2 separate regions of the Homo sapiens genome follow, and region 2 is linked to region 1. Evidence: promoter capture Hi-C in human tissues and cell types (Jung and others, 2019). All regions are on one chromosome and are shown on one strand. Each heading gives the region's core, a stretch centred on a gene start or on the middle of the fragment in contact. The rest is flanking DNA. Distances are from core to core; before and after follow the strand shown. Region 1 holds the start of USH1C (USH1 protein network component harmonin). Region 2 overlaps LOC124902640 (a long non-coding RNA gene).

Region 1 (7,415 bases), core at 186-2,685:
TTCTTCTCCAAGAGGGATTTACATCTTAAACTAGGCAACAAAAATAGTGTGCTTGTAAAACTTCAGCTATTGGGGAGAGGGACGCAGAGGGGTGTTTAGGTGCCCCAGAGTTACAATTGTAAGTGGTTACCTGATGTAAGCTGCTGTCCATCTCCTTGCCCCTGCCCTTGACAGGGCACAAAGGGCTCAGGTGCCTCCCTGGGTTAAGTTCAGGCACAAGCCCCATACTTAGCCTCTGATTTACACATTTTTATCACCCCTCTCCTAGCCCCTCTTTCCTTTCATCTCTTTCCAGGCCTGGTTCATCATTGTCTTTGATGAATCTTTCCTTTCATTCCTTTCCAGGCCTGGTTCATCATTGTCTTTGCACCAAGCACTAGACCTAGGAGTTAAGCAAATGCTGACCAAATTGAATTAAATGAACCAGAGGGTCTGGGCCCTGGGTGAAGGTCAGCCATAGATCAAAATGTCACTGCCAGGCTCTGCCAGGCTTCGATGGATATGTGAGTGTGTTGGGTTTGGGTTTTGTTTTGTCTTGTTTTGTTGGGGGTGGAGGTGTTAGGGAAGGTGGGAGGGGAAATCAGTTGAGGGGGGCACTCTCACACACACTGATTCAGACCCCTGCGGCCCACAGTAAAACCCAGCCCTGTCCCCAAGGAATTCACAGAACAAGGATTGATTTCTCCCTGGTGGAAAAGTGCAGGAGGAAGCCAGGACTGAAGGTACGCTGGAGGTGAGGGCGTAGCAAGGGCTGACAGTCCAGGAGGGCCATGAACCTCGACAAGAGTATCCAGAGAAGGCCGGGCGCGGTGGCCCGCGCCTGTAATCCCAGCACTTTGGGAGGCCGAGGTGGGCAGATCACGAGGTCAGGAGATCGAGACCTTCCTGGCGAACACGGTGAAACCCCGTCTCTACTAAAAATACAAAAAAAAAAAATTAGCCGGGCGTGGTGGCGGGCGCCTGTAGTCCCAGCTACTCGGGAGGCTGAGGCAGGAGAATGGCGTGAACCCGGGAGGCGGAGCTTGCAGTGAGCCAAGATCATGCCACTGCACTGTAGCCTGGGCGACAGAGCGAGACTCCGTCTCGGGGGGGAAAAAAAAAGAATATCCAGAGAAAACGGACTAGATTGCCCCGCCCCCCGCCCGTGTAAATAGTTTCCGTATCTCTCTATTCCGGTCCCCACAAAAAAGTCCCAAACCTCCTCCCTACGTCTCCACGATCTTCTTCCTCAAACGCATGTGTTCAGGTACCACTTCCAGAGAAATACCAGCTTGAAGCCCAGCTACTGCCACCTCAGGCCCATAGGCACACTGGGGCCCATTTGCTCCCAGGCTTCAGTGGGAGGCGACGACTCAGCACCTTCGACTCCAGCCTCGCAGCGGCCCCGCCCCACAGAGGCCTGGCCCCGCCCCTCCGCGCTCAGGCCCCGCCCCCAGCTCCGAGGGCGGCTGGCCCGGTCGCGGTCGCGGCTCTTTCCAGCTCCTGGCAGCCGGGCACCCGAAGGAACGGGTCGTGCAACGACGCAGCTGGACCTGGCCCAGCCATGGACCGAAAAGTGGCCCGAGAATTCCGGCATAAGGTCAGAGCTGCAGGGCGCCCCAGGCTTCTGGGACTCCGGAGTCCTGGGCGCGGTGGGTAGGGGGTGGACACCCCGGCACTGCCCCTCCCTTTTCCGGCCCCACCTGATGGCTCTGGTTGGGCTGGGACACCCGAGGGTCGTCTGGCTGGCAGCAGGGATCCCCAGTAAAGTGAGGGAGGGAATGCGGGGACTCCCGGCTCAAGGACTGCTAAACGAGTCGATCTTCTGCCAGCCTTTCTCCCTCTGCCTTCCAGGGGCAGGGACGTCTCTGGGGTTTGAATTCCTTCCAGTCTTGGCCGCTTTTCTGAGGTGCCCCCTTTGTGGGCAAGCCCCTCTCCTTCCTAGTGCCCCCAGCTCAGGGCTGTTGAGGCATGTGGAGACAGTCTGGGGCAGTATCTGAGAGGTGAGGGTTGGGAGAAGGGAAACTAGACGTCTCTCTCTCTGCCTTTTGACCTCAGAACATGAGTTAGAAGCATTTCAGCCCTGCCTGCCTAAGGGCGTTTCTTAGGGTCTGAGAAGTAGCTGAGGAGCTGGTGCTGACCCGGGTGCGGTGGGGAGGAAGGGAGGAGGTACTGAGGGCGTCGGAGCTGGGCTCTGGCCGGCCAGATCCTTCAGGCAGAGCCGGGTCCACCCTGGTGTGTCCCAGTGAGGGGCCTCACTGGTGGTCTGGGATTCTCAAGGACCATCTCTGGAAGTGGCCAGGTTTCACACAGGGCATTTCGAGAATGATTCACAAAGCTGTGCAGAATCTGCTGAGGCCCTGAGACCAGAGAGGGCCATCAAAGAGATCCAGCCTACTTCCCCACCAAGTCTTAGGATGCCTCTGAGTCTGGGGATGAAGCCGCTTGGGGGGGGTGGGTGGTATCTGGAGCTCCCCACAGGCCCTGCCTGAGGGGCAGGTAACTATTGATAACTTAACTATTGATAACTGTGTGACCCAAGGCTCTCCCAAAGACCCCAGGGGCAGTGTCTTTAGACCAAGCCAAACCTCTTCCTGGTTTGAGAGCTGAGCTCAGGTAGGGCAGGTCAGGGTGCTTAACTCCTTCCTTCCCATAAAGAGGCCCATAGGAGCCCAAGGAGCTAGCCAGTGTAGGGGCCACAGGGGCTTGGGGCCAAGGGCCCGGGGTCAGTTATTCATTTAATAAGCATGTTTTGAGCATCCTCTCAGCCATACCCAGTCTGTGCCCTTTGCTGGTGGTGTAGGTGGGAGGCAGACCCTACCCTGGTAATTACCCATGTCTGAGTGCTGCGTGTTGAGGCCAAGCTTTTGTAGGGGCACAAAGGGACAGCTCAAACTGGCAGAAGGCTCCTGAAAACAAGGTCTTGGGCATTTCTGGTCCTGCTCCCAGGGGTGGGTGATAGCTGGAAGTTCAGCAGGAATTTAGGGGCTGGCGAATACCAAGGGGAGCTTGAGAGAGCATTCACTGTTACATCCTGTTGCAAAGAGACATGTCGGAAGAAATTTCAGCCACTAAGGACATTTTGTGAGTGTAGATTTCAGGCAACCCAGTTTGAAGGAGCTCAGCCTTCCATCCCCCAACCCAAGACTCAGGGTTGAATTTCAGTTTCCTGCCCCTGGCCTGAAATAACATCAGGTCTTCTGCCTTCACTCTGTGGGGTACCTGCTCTCTCTTTTTTGTGAGAATCATCTCCAGGGTCCCTGGTGTCTGATGCAGATCCTGGGTTTGCCCTGTTCCTCTTCCCCAGGTCCCACAGGCTCCAAAGGGCCTCAGACCTCCACGTTTCCTCTGCCCTACTCTTCCTCATCGCAACAGTCATTACTTATTAATATCCCTGTGTGCAGGCAGGGCAGGCGCCATGCGCTAGGCAAGGCCCAGGCTGGACTTTGTGCCCTGCTGCCTTGGAGACAGCCACAGCCTTCCCCTCCCAGGTTGGGGATCATCCAGGAACTGGGGAGAGAGGATGAAGCACAGAGGATAGAAAGGAGGCACACAGACATGCTGGGAGAAATTTACAGCTTGCTGTTGTTTGCTTTGTAGGGGTCCCTTCCTTAGTGTTTTGGAAGAAATGGTTTGTGATCTAAATCCTTAGTTGTTGGAAGTAATATTTAAGGTAGTGTGTTATAATGGAAAGTGCTCTGTGACCTTGAGCAAGTTACTTAATCTCTCTGTGCCTCAGTGCTCTTACTTGTGAAAAGAGATAACAATATTTAACGAATAAGGTTACCATGAATGCTGAATGAGACCTACATGTGTGTGGGGAGCTTAAATAGACCCTGGCACTTAGGGAGCTCTCAAGAAATGTCCATGTTGATTATTATCTGGAGTTAGCAGAACTGGGACCAAATCTTAGCCCTGTCACTGTCAGGAAGACCTTGACCAAGCCACCCACTCTCCCTGAGTTTTAGTTTCTTCAGCTATGAGATGGAGTTTGTAGAACTTACCTCACAAGACAGTCAAAACTAACTAGCAATTAAAGTACTGGCTGCTCTGGGCCCACAGTAACCACACTGTTTCCAGCTGATACCTGCAGAGTGTCCAGTGGGAGCCAACAGGCTCCAGGCATCGACTCCCTTTGATTTGTGAAGTTACCCCAAGGCCGCCAGGAGCACTTGCATACCCTTCCAGTAACTAGTAGCAACCTTGGGCCAGGATGTGGGGGAGCAGGGCTTGGTCAGAGACTGTTTTCTCCCTCAGAGAACCAGCTTTCAAAGGGAGACTGCTCTTCTGTTCGCAGCACCAGCACAGGGTAGGAACTTGGTTACTCATTGGCTTAAAAGTATTTATTGCCTCTTCAGCAATCATGCATTTATGAGCATAGCTGTGTATTCTGCCTGAGGCCAGGCATCTGACAACCGGTTGGGATGAATAAGATCAGAAAGAGCCACCACTCTCTAGGAATTTGTTAATCATTCATTTATTCACATAGGCAATAAATATTGACTGAGCCCTTAATATATGCCAGGCAGTACTCTAAGCATCAAAAAACAAAATAAAGCCCTTGCTGTCTTAGACAGTACATTCCAGTAGGGAAGACAGGTAGTTAAAAGGAAATCAACAAAAGTATCATACAATGCCAGATAGTGATAAATTCTATGAAAAAATAAACTAAGATGGGGAGAGAGAGATAGTAAGTGACAAGGTAGGCAGTCACGAAGGCCTCTCTGAAGAGGTGACATCTGAGCAGAGACCTAGAAGAAGTGAGGAGAAGGAGCCACAGAGATACATGTAGAAGAGCATTCCCTAAAGTGGAAGCAACAAGTGTGAAGGCCCTGAGGCAAGCAGATGCCCGCCTGTATGGAACAGCAAGTAGGACAGTGTGTCCCAGAGGAATCGTGAGTGGAGAATGGTGAGAAATGGGTCGGAGGGGTGGTAGGGGCCTGGTAGGCCATGGTCAGGTCAGGATTTTCTTGTAAGTGTGAATGATTTACATTTAAAAGGAATTGTTCTGGCTGCTCTGTAGAGAATCCACTGAGGGGCCCAAGAGTAGAAGGGGACCTCAGTCAGGAGGCTCCTGCAGGAGCCCAGGCCAGAGGCAGGGGCTCGGACTCGGGTGAGAATGGGTCGGATTCAGGATACATGTTAAAGGAAAAACTGACAGGCTTTGCTGATGGATTGGCTGCGAGCGTAGAAAGAGAGGCATCAAGGGTGAATCCACATTTGGTGGAGACGGAGCAGGTTGGTGGAGACGGAGCAGGAGGTGGTGGAAACCTAGCGTTCCACTTCGAATGCTGTAAGTTTGAGACGCCTGCTAGAGGTGACTGAGAAGGCTGTAGGTCTGGCCTGGAGATAAGCATCGGTAGGTCCTTGGGGGTGTGAGTGGTATTTAAACCCCTGAGATGAATGAGGTCACTTAGAGAGACAGTGCAGATGGAGAGGAGACCTAGGACAGAGCCCGGGGTACCTCAACTTTTGGAGGAGAAGGAGCAGCAAGCGAGGAAGGAAAGCAAGGAGAAGCAGGGCGTGATTGCTGTGCCAGGCACAGGGTGAAATACTACAAACTAGCTGACATGTCAAGAGCCTCTGAAAAGATGAAGGGCACTGTCTATGTCCTTGATGGTGGTGATGCTTTCACACGTGCACATTTATCCCCAAACTCATCAGGTTGTATACACTAAATATATACAGCGCTTTACATGTCAGGCATACCTCAATAAAGTGGTTCCAGAAAAAGAAAAGAAGTCAGGTGTGGCGGCTCACGCCTGAAATCCCAGCATTTTGGGAGGCTGAGGTGGGAGAATCACTTGAGTCCATGAGTTTGAGACCAGCCTGGGCAACATAGCGAGACCCCATCTCTACAAAAAATACAAAAATTAGCCAGGTGTGGTGTTGTGCACCTGTAGTCCCAGCTACTTGAGAGGTTGAGGCAGGAGAATCAATTGAGCCTGGAGGTTGAGGCTGCAGTGAGCTGTGGTCACACCACTGCACTCCAGCTTGGGTGACAGAGTAAGACCTGGTCTCAAAAAAAAAAAAAAAAAGAAAAAGAAAGAAACAGAAACAGAAAGAAAAGAAAGAGAGAGAGACAGAGACAGAGACAGAGAGAACCCTAGACAAGAAAGAAAGAAAGCAAAAGAAAAAGAAAAGATGGATGATAAGAAAATGAGAGTCAAATAAAGCCTGGTACCACTGGGATGCACACTCTAAAGGCCTGGGAAGAAGTGTGGCTGGATCTATTCATCCCACTAACATCTACAGAGGGCCACTCGCTGCCCACTGCTGTGGATATAGAATTTATGTCCACTTATTGTCACTTAGTTTTATGTAACAAACACAGGACTTACTACCTGCCAGGCACTGTTCTGAACTCTTCATAATTATTAACTCATTAAATTAATACTAAAAAACAATGATTAATCTCTCATAGTGATTAAATCCCATTTTAAAAAGAGATGTTAGTCCTCATTTTACAGATAAGGAAACTGAGGCACAGAGAGGAGCAGACCCAGTTGGGGAAGGGGTTCTTTGGCTCTACCACCACACTCACAAGCCAGGCCTGTGTCTGGGCCACACACAGGCTTGTGGGGAGACAGGAGGGTAAAGGGAGAAAGTTCAGCACAGCTTGGTGAGTCCCATGGCAGAGTTGGGGACAAAGTGCTGTTGTGTGCACAGAGAAAGATGTGGCCAGCTTTGTGTGGGAGCCTAAGGAAAGACTTGGCCAAGAAGAGGCGACATTTGAAGTGAGTCTTAAAGATAGAGGAGGAGTCCACAGAGAGGAAATACTGCTGGTACCACCATTGCTAATGGCTAACCAGGGTGGCAGCAGGGAGCAGGTGGCTCGTCCAAGGGGGAAGCCAAGAAAGCTTTATGAACAGGTTCTACAGAAAAGGGCAGGATTAAATGACCCAACAAGCTGCACCCTGGGGCCAGATGCAGGAGGCCAGCATCCCTGAAGGGGCCAGTAGAGGGAAGGTTACCAGAACAGGTGAGAACCAGGGCTGCCAAAGAGGCCCAGACAGCAGCTGCAGCCTTGGGTGGAGGAACCTGCCTAACTGTGGCCCAGCAGCCAGCCCCCAGGGACTAGGAGCCTCAGTTCCTGTCTCCCCACGCCTCTCATCTCCTGCTTGTGCCTCCCGATGGCTGAACACAGCAGAAAGCCAGAGGGGAGAGGAGCCCAGGCAGAGCCCTCTGGACAAAGGGCAGGGTGGAGAAGGCTGGAGGCATGAAAGGAAAAGATCTAGCACACATTTTGGAGACCTTGAAATGTCCCAGGCATTGTCATACGTGCTTTACACATACTCACTCATTTAATCCCCGCAACAGCCCAAAGAGACTTCATCAAGCAGAACAACATGCATTATTTAATTTGTTCTGGCTCTCTTTCTCCCTGTTTGGCTGGGTGCACACCTAAAGTTGAATCTTCCTGAGTTGACTGTCCC
Region 2 (6,910 bases), core at 2,930-5,429, 200 kb after region 1:
ATGGTACCAGTCTTGTAAGTCTCTGAAAAGCTAACACCTGTGTATGTGAGTACACATGTTAGGTGATGTTCTTGAAGGCAAAAGCAAGTTGGAGAGAGATTTTGGCTCAGTATAAGAAAAGCTTTCTGCTGGGCGCGGTGGCTCACACCTGTAATCCCAGCACTTTGGGAGGCCGAGGCGGGTGGATCACCTGAGGTCAGGAGTTCGAGACCAGCCTGGCCAACATGGTGAAACCCTGTCTCTACTAAAAATACAAAACTTAGCCAGGTGTGGTGGCAGACGCCTGTAATCCCAGCTACTCGGGAGGCTGAAGCAGGAGAATCACTTGAACCCGGGAAGCGGAGGTTGCAGTGAGCCGAGATCAATGCCGTTGCACTCCAGCCTGAGTGACAAGTGTAAGACTCTGTCTCAAAAAAAAAAAGGAAAGGAAAGCTTTTCTATTAAAGGAATGGGACATTTCAAGTTGCCCCTCAGCAACAATTTATTGAACTCTGCCAGGCACAATCTAGGAGTGACGAATTCAGCGATGGCTAAAGCACAGTCCTTAGCTTCAAAAAATCTGTCTAGGCCAGGTGTAGTGGCTTATGCCTGTAATCCCAGCACTTTGGGAAGCCAAGACAGGAGGATCACTTGAGCTCAGGAGTTTGGAATCAGCTTAGGCAACATAGTGAGGCCCCATCTCCACAAAAAAAATCAAGATATTAGCTGGGTGTGGTGGTGTCACCTATATTCCCAGCTATTTGAGAGGCTGAGGTGGGAGGGAGGATGGCTCAAGGCCAGGAGGTCATGGCTGCAGTGAGCCATGATTGCACCACTGCACTCCAGCCTGGGTGACAGAGTGAGACTCTGTCTCCAAAAAAAAAAAAAAAAAAAAAAAAAAAAAAAACACAAAAACAAACAAAAAACACCTCATTCTAGACCATTGTTGTTCCAAGTAGCTGTGCTGAAGGACTCTTTAAAAGTGTCCAACCTGGCCAGGCATGGTGGCTCACCCACTTTGGGAGGCAGAGGCAGGAGGACTGCTTGAGGGCAACAGTTCAAGACCAACTGGCCAACATAGCAAGATCCTGTCTCTATTATTTTTTCTTAATTCTAAAAAATAAAAGTAAAAATAAAAAATAAGTGTCCAACCCACGAAGAACTGTCATTTTGTGAAATAAAAATGAATTACTAGAGAAATGAAATAAAAAGACATAAAAATCCAAGCCCTCAATTTTTATTCTTAGATTCAAAAGACATAAAATTATTTTTGAATTGCTATAAAAGTTTCCAACAGCATGAGTAATGTTGGTTGGCCTTCTCACCATTAGGTAACAGCCAGGCATAGACCAGCACCAGTCACAGACCACACTGTGAGAAAGACCAGTCTAGACAAATGCAGATTGAGAGCCATTCTATAAAACAAATGACCTGTACTCTCAAAAAATGTAAATGTCATGAAAGACAAAATACAACTGAGGAGCTATTCCAGATCAAAGGAAATTAAAGAGACCTTACAACAAAATCCAACACACAAATCCTGGATCATGAAAAAATTATTATAAAGGACAGTATTGAGACAGTTGGTGAAATTTGAATACGGACTATGTGTTAGATTAATAGTATTGTAACAATGTTAAATTTCCCAAATTTGATAATTATATGATGGTTATGATTAAAAAAATATTTGTTCATAAGAGATGCTCACATATTTAGGGTAAGGGATCACAATGTTTGCAGCTTAATTCTGAAACGCTTCAGTCAAACAAAGAATTGGACAGAAAGAGTGAAAGCAAGGTATACTAGAATTTGTGAAAGGAAAATATTTTGGGTCCCCAAAATCACTAAGGAAAACTCAAGATGAAAAACTGCTTAGGGTAAACCTGTCTCCTGTTGCCCTGTTTCTATTCAGTCACTCCTCTGCTCACGGAGATAGATGCATATCTGACTTGCCTCCTTTGGAAAGGTAGAAACTCAAAATGGGAAACTCAAAAGAACGTAACCCTTTGTGTATCACCTGTGACCTGGAAGCTCCCACCGCACTTAGAGCCTTCCTGCCTTTGCTTCAGGTTGTCCTGCCTTTCCAGGCCAAACCAATGTACTTCTTACATATATTGATTGATGTCTCATGTCTCTCTAAATGTATAAAACCAAGCTGTGCCCCGACCACCTTGGGCACATGTCGTCAGGACTTTCTGAGGCTGTGTCATGGCTGTGTCCTCAACCTTGGCAAAATAAACTTTCTAAATTAACTGAGACCTGTCTCAAATTTTCGGGGTTCACAAATTCATTATACTATCGTTGCAATGATTTAATTTTTTTTCAAAATAACAAACACATAACAAAACTAAATGCAATGTGTGATCCCAGATTGGATCTTAGCGCAGAAAAAATTTATAGTAGGATAACTGGCAAAATTTGCAGATTAGTTTATAGAATTGTATCAATGTTAATTTCCTGATTGTAATACTTTTACTGTAGTTATATAACATGTTGATATTTGAGGAAGCTAGATGAAGGGCATATGGGAATTCTTTATACTATTTTTGCAAATTTTTTGTAAGGCTAAAATTATTTAAAGTTGGGCAGCTAGAAGTCCTAACACCCAGTCCAGGACTTTCCACTATACCAACATCATGGACTCTGTCAGTGTGCTATCTTATTAAATGGTTCTTGAATTTAAATGGAAATATTTATTTATCATACAACACTGAAGGGTAGGGAGTGTGGCTATAAATGCTCTCAATGACATCTAAATGCTTATTAGACTCTTCATAACATCAGCCAGGTTTCCTTTCCATTATGGATTCTCTAATGATGAAAAAGAGTGAGGTGCTTTTCCACATGATTTACCACTGGTTCCCAAACTTGTCTGCATATTAGAATCACCTGGAGATGGGACCCAGGTACCAGTATTTTTTGTATCTCTTAGGTGATTCCAATATGCAGACAAGCCTGGAAACCACTGTGATTTCCACTTCAATGCTATCACTGGAAGACTTGAAGCAGGAGGTGGATAACCACTTACTAGCCATGCTGGAGAAGGGGTTCCTTCATTGGAAGATAGTATCTAAGGCCCTTACTCAGGCTCTATGACTCTCTAATATTGGTGTTTTACAAATAATCCATTCTATTAACATTGTCAAATCTTTTTTCCCAGAAAATTACAACAAATATTACATATTTTTCTAATTTTACTTTTAATATAATTAGAAATAAACCTATACAAACAACGACTAGAACAATATTTTCCAAAAAATATTGCACTGGAAGAATTTTTACAACATATATTTATAAAATGAATTCAAATGTAACAAAAATTATATAAAGTCTCTGTTTTTCTGATTCTCTATCAAATTAAAATCCAATTATTTATTTATAGTTTTAAAAATAGGCCAAATATCTAAATAAGCCAAGAAAAAATAAATCTAAGTAATCTTCAAGCTAGTAGAACTTTTTCCAAAATTTAAAAATAACGTTTTCAGCCCCATATTTATAAAAGGTTACTTTTCTTTTTTTTGAGACGGAGTGTCGCTCTGCCACCCAGGCTGTAGTGCAGTGGTGCGTTATCGGCTCACTGCAACCTCCGCCTCCCGGCCTCAAGTGATTCTCCTGCCTCAGCCTCCTGAGTAGCTGGGATTACAGGCGCCCACCACCACGCCCGGCTAATTTTTGTATTTTTAGTAGAGATGGGGTTTCACCATCTTGGCCAGGCTGGTCTTTAACACCTGACCTCGTGATCCACCCGCCTTGGCCTCCCAAAGTACTGGGATTACAGGCGTGAGCCACCGCACCCAGCCAAAAAGGTTACATTTTTAATTCAACATTTAAATTGAAAATTTTTCAATATTCTCCCAATAATTAGTAATAACAAATAAAAGCTCTTTAAAATCTTGACTTTAAAATAGGATATGTAAACCATCATTCTTAAATGGTTCTAAGACATAATTAATATTGGTAAAATATGGATTACACAGCACTGGTTTTCTTTATTTAAAAAAAAGCAATAATGGATAGGTTTTTTTTTCATGTTTTAGTTCCAGAAGACAATTTTTTTTTCAGAAGATACTGAATGGTCTTCCATCCAGAACTATTTTAGTCACAAGCTTACACACATTTTCCATCCAAAAATAAGATATTTCTATTAAAAGCTATACAAATTGGTACACAGACAGCATTTACTACACAGATACTATTTCTAAAGTTGCAAGGTTTCTAATTCTCATGTGTGCTAATAGATACCAGACTAACAGCTTCAGGAAAGATTAACCCTCCTTTCACTGTCCCTGAAAGGGGGATCCATCTTCCACCTTCAGCCTCCAGAGCTCTTCCATTCTTAGGTCCTGGAACTGGACACAGGGGCTCGGACAGAATTATCAGGAAGTCACCAGAGCCATAGCAGAAGAATGAAACAGTCACTCTAGGCATTAACTGACTTCAAATTGCTGTCCTTACAAAAATACTTAGCCTCTGTTTTATCATTTATATAAATCTTTTAGAAGATAACCCTGTTTTAATATAGTCACCTAGTCTTAATTAGTAATACAAAAGGCTTCCTTAGAGAAAAGATCAATAGCTTGGGATTGTGAGGGAAGGGAAGAATTTGTTTGAAAGGCCTGATAATAGAGTCCCATAAAGCTGGTGGCTATGAAACTTTAAGACTGAAAATGGTGCTAGGACCTCTTACATGCCTCAAAGCTTTCTCCAGTGATTAAGAAGGTGCATTAGAAATACAATAGTGGGAAAGTCAATACAAAAGTGGGAAAATGGGGGAGCGCATATAGAGAGGAAAGAACTTCTTGATTAAAATTCAGGTCATCCAGGCAAAAGTAGTGAAGAAGTAATAAACTAGGCTACTTTTCTCCTAACCAGAGATTGCTGAATTAACACCCTAGTCTTTCCGTATCAAAGATGTTTCTTCCTGTATTAACTGTAAGATGAATAATCCCTGCTGAGATCTATAAAGTACTATAGATAGGCTTCTGCTTATCTTTAAAACCATTATTATTTAAGGAGGATACAAAAAAGTCAAAGAACTGAACAGGGACATTCATCAGAGCATCTGACTGCTACGTATTTGCCCCAGATGCTGGTTCACTCAATCAGAGAGGAGTAAGGAGTCAGGGACCCACCCCATGAGTCAGAAATTCCCCTGCAGAGATACAAGAACTCTCTGCAATTGAAACCAAACCAGGAATGAGGGCCTGCCTAACTAGCTCTAGAAAAACTGACTTTTCTGCAAAGGTGCTTTTTCTTTTCCCCAAAAAATCAACCTTGAACCTCAATGAAACATACTATGAACATCAAAGGGAATAAATACACACACATATCAAAAGAAATAAAAAATGATATGGGATTAGGACTGAGATTTAGTTAGAAAAAAATTAAGATGCAAATTCTAAGATATATTACTAAGTGTCATAGAACAAGAAAGAATCACTACACAAAGTTGATAGGGATTTTAAATAGTCATGTTTGATAAAAATACTTCAATAAATACCTCCATAAAACTGTTTAAAACATTAAAGGACATAGTAAATATGCTTTAAAAAGGAAATCATCTATATATCACTACTTTAATAAGGAAATATTTAGAAAGTTGTCACACCAAGAACAGAAAGGATAAAATTCAAAAGTAAAACAACTCCAAATCACCTTAACAATGGAGGACAGCATGGAAGCAAAATAGGCCAAACAACATGGTACAAAACAAATACAACATGGCACAGACTGCATATGTGCCTCACACCCCATGCACAGAAAATCTAAAGCAAGGGCGGGGATTTAATTAAATGACACATACTCTGACATCACTAAAAATGCACATTGAAAATGAACTAAAGTTGAGCAGAAATAACATGTTAAATGCAATGATTCATGGGAGATAGCAAAGAGAACTAGATGCAATTTTTTTTTCTCTCTCACCATTAAATCAATTAAAAGACACAGACTGGCAAATTGGATAAAGCGTCAAGACCCATCAGTGTGCTGTATTCAGGAAACCCATCTCATGTGCAGAGACACACATAGGCTCAAAATAAAGGGATGGAGGAAGATCTACCAAGCAAATGGAAAACAAAAAAAGGCAGGGGTTGCAATCCTAGTCTCTGATAAAACAGACTTTAAACCAACAAAGATCAAAAGAGACAAAGAAGGCCATTACATAATGATAAAGGGATCAATTCAACAAGAAGAGCTAACTATCCTAAATATATATGCACCCAATACAGGAGCACCCAGATTCATAAAGCAAGTCCTTAGAGACCTACAAAGAGACTTAGACTCCCACACAATAATAATGGGAGAATTTAACACCCCACTGTCAACATTAGACAGATCAACGAGACAGAAAGTTAACAGGGATATCCAGGAATTGAACTCAGCTCTGCACCAAGCAGACCTAATAGACATCTACAGAACTCTCCACCCCAAATCAACAGAATATACATTTTTTTCAGCACCACACCACACCTATTCCAAAATTGACCACATACTTGGAAGTAAAGCTCTCCTCAGCAAATGTAAAAGAACAGAAATTATAACAAACTATCTCTCAGACCACAGTGCAATCAAACTAGAACTCAGGATTAAGAATCTCACTCAAAACCACTCAACTACATGGAAACTGAACAACCTGCTCCTGAATGACTACTGGGTACATAACGAAATGAAGGCAGAAATAAAGATGTTCTTTGAAACCAACAAGAACAAAGACACAACATACCAGAATCTCTGGGACGCATTCAAAGCAGTGTGTAGAGGGAAATTTATAGCACTAAATGCCCACAAGAGAAAGCAGGAAAGATCTAAAATTGACACCCTAACATCACAATTAAAAGAACTAGAGAAGCAAGAGCAAACACATTCAAAAGCTAGCAGAAGGCAAGAAATAACTAAGATCAGAGCAGAACTGAAAGAGATACACAAAAAA

The links. The method cuts DNA at HindIII sites, captures the fragments that hold promoters and counts their contacts. A contact is called where the count stands out against the background at its distance.
Region 2: a fragment that was not itself captured here is called in contact with the fragment with the promoter of USH1C in region 1 in 1 of the 25 tissues and cell types used here (dorsolateral prefrontal cortex).

The regions. Positions count from the first base shown.
Region 1 is chr11:17,538,436-17,545,850 of GRCh38, reverse strand. It overlaps USH1C (USH1 protein network component harmonin), which reads left to right and starts at 1,435. Exons shown (of 27, transcript NM_153676.4): 1 at 1,435-1,579. The coding sequence starts at 1,544. The HindIII fragment of the contact is 3,601 bases long and covers 1,241-4,841 here.
Region 2 is chr11:17,342,296-17,349,205 of GRCh38, reverse strand. LOC124902640 (a long non-coding RNA gene) reads right to left here. Exons shown (of 2, transcript XR_007062608.1): 2 at 3,161-6,910. It also overlaps a transcript of NUCB2 not described here. Among named protein-coding and RNA genes, the nearest start is that of NCR3LG1, 6.0 kb to the left of the region's middle. The HindIII fragment of the contact is 3,839 bases long and covers 2,260-6,098 here.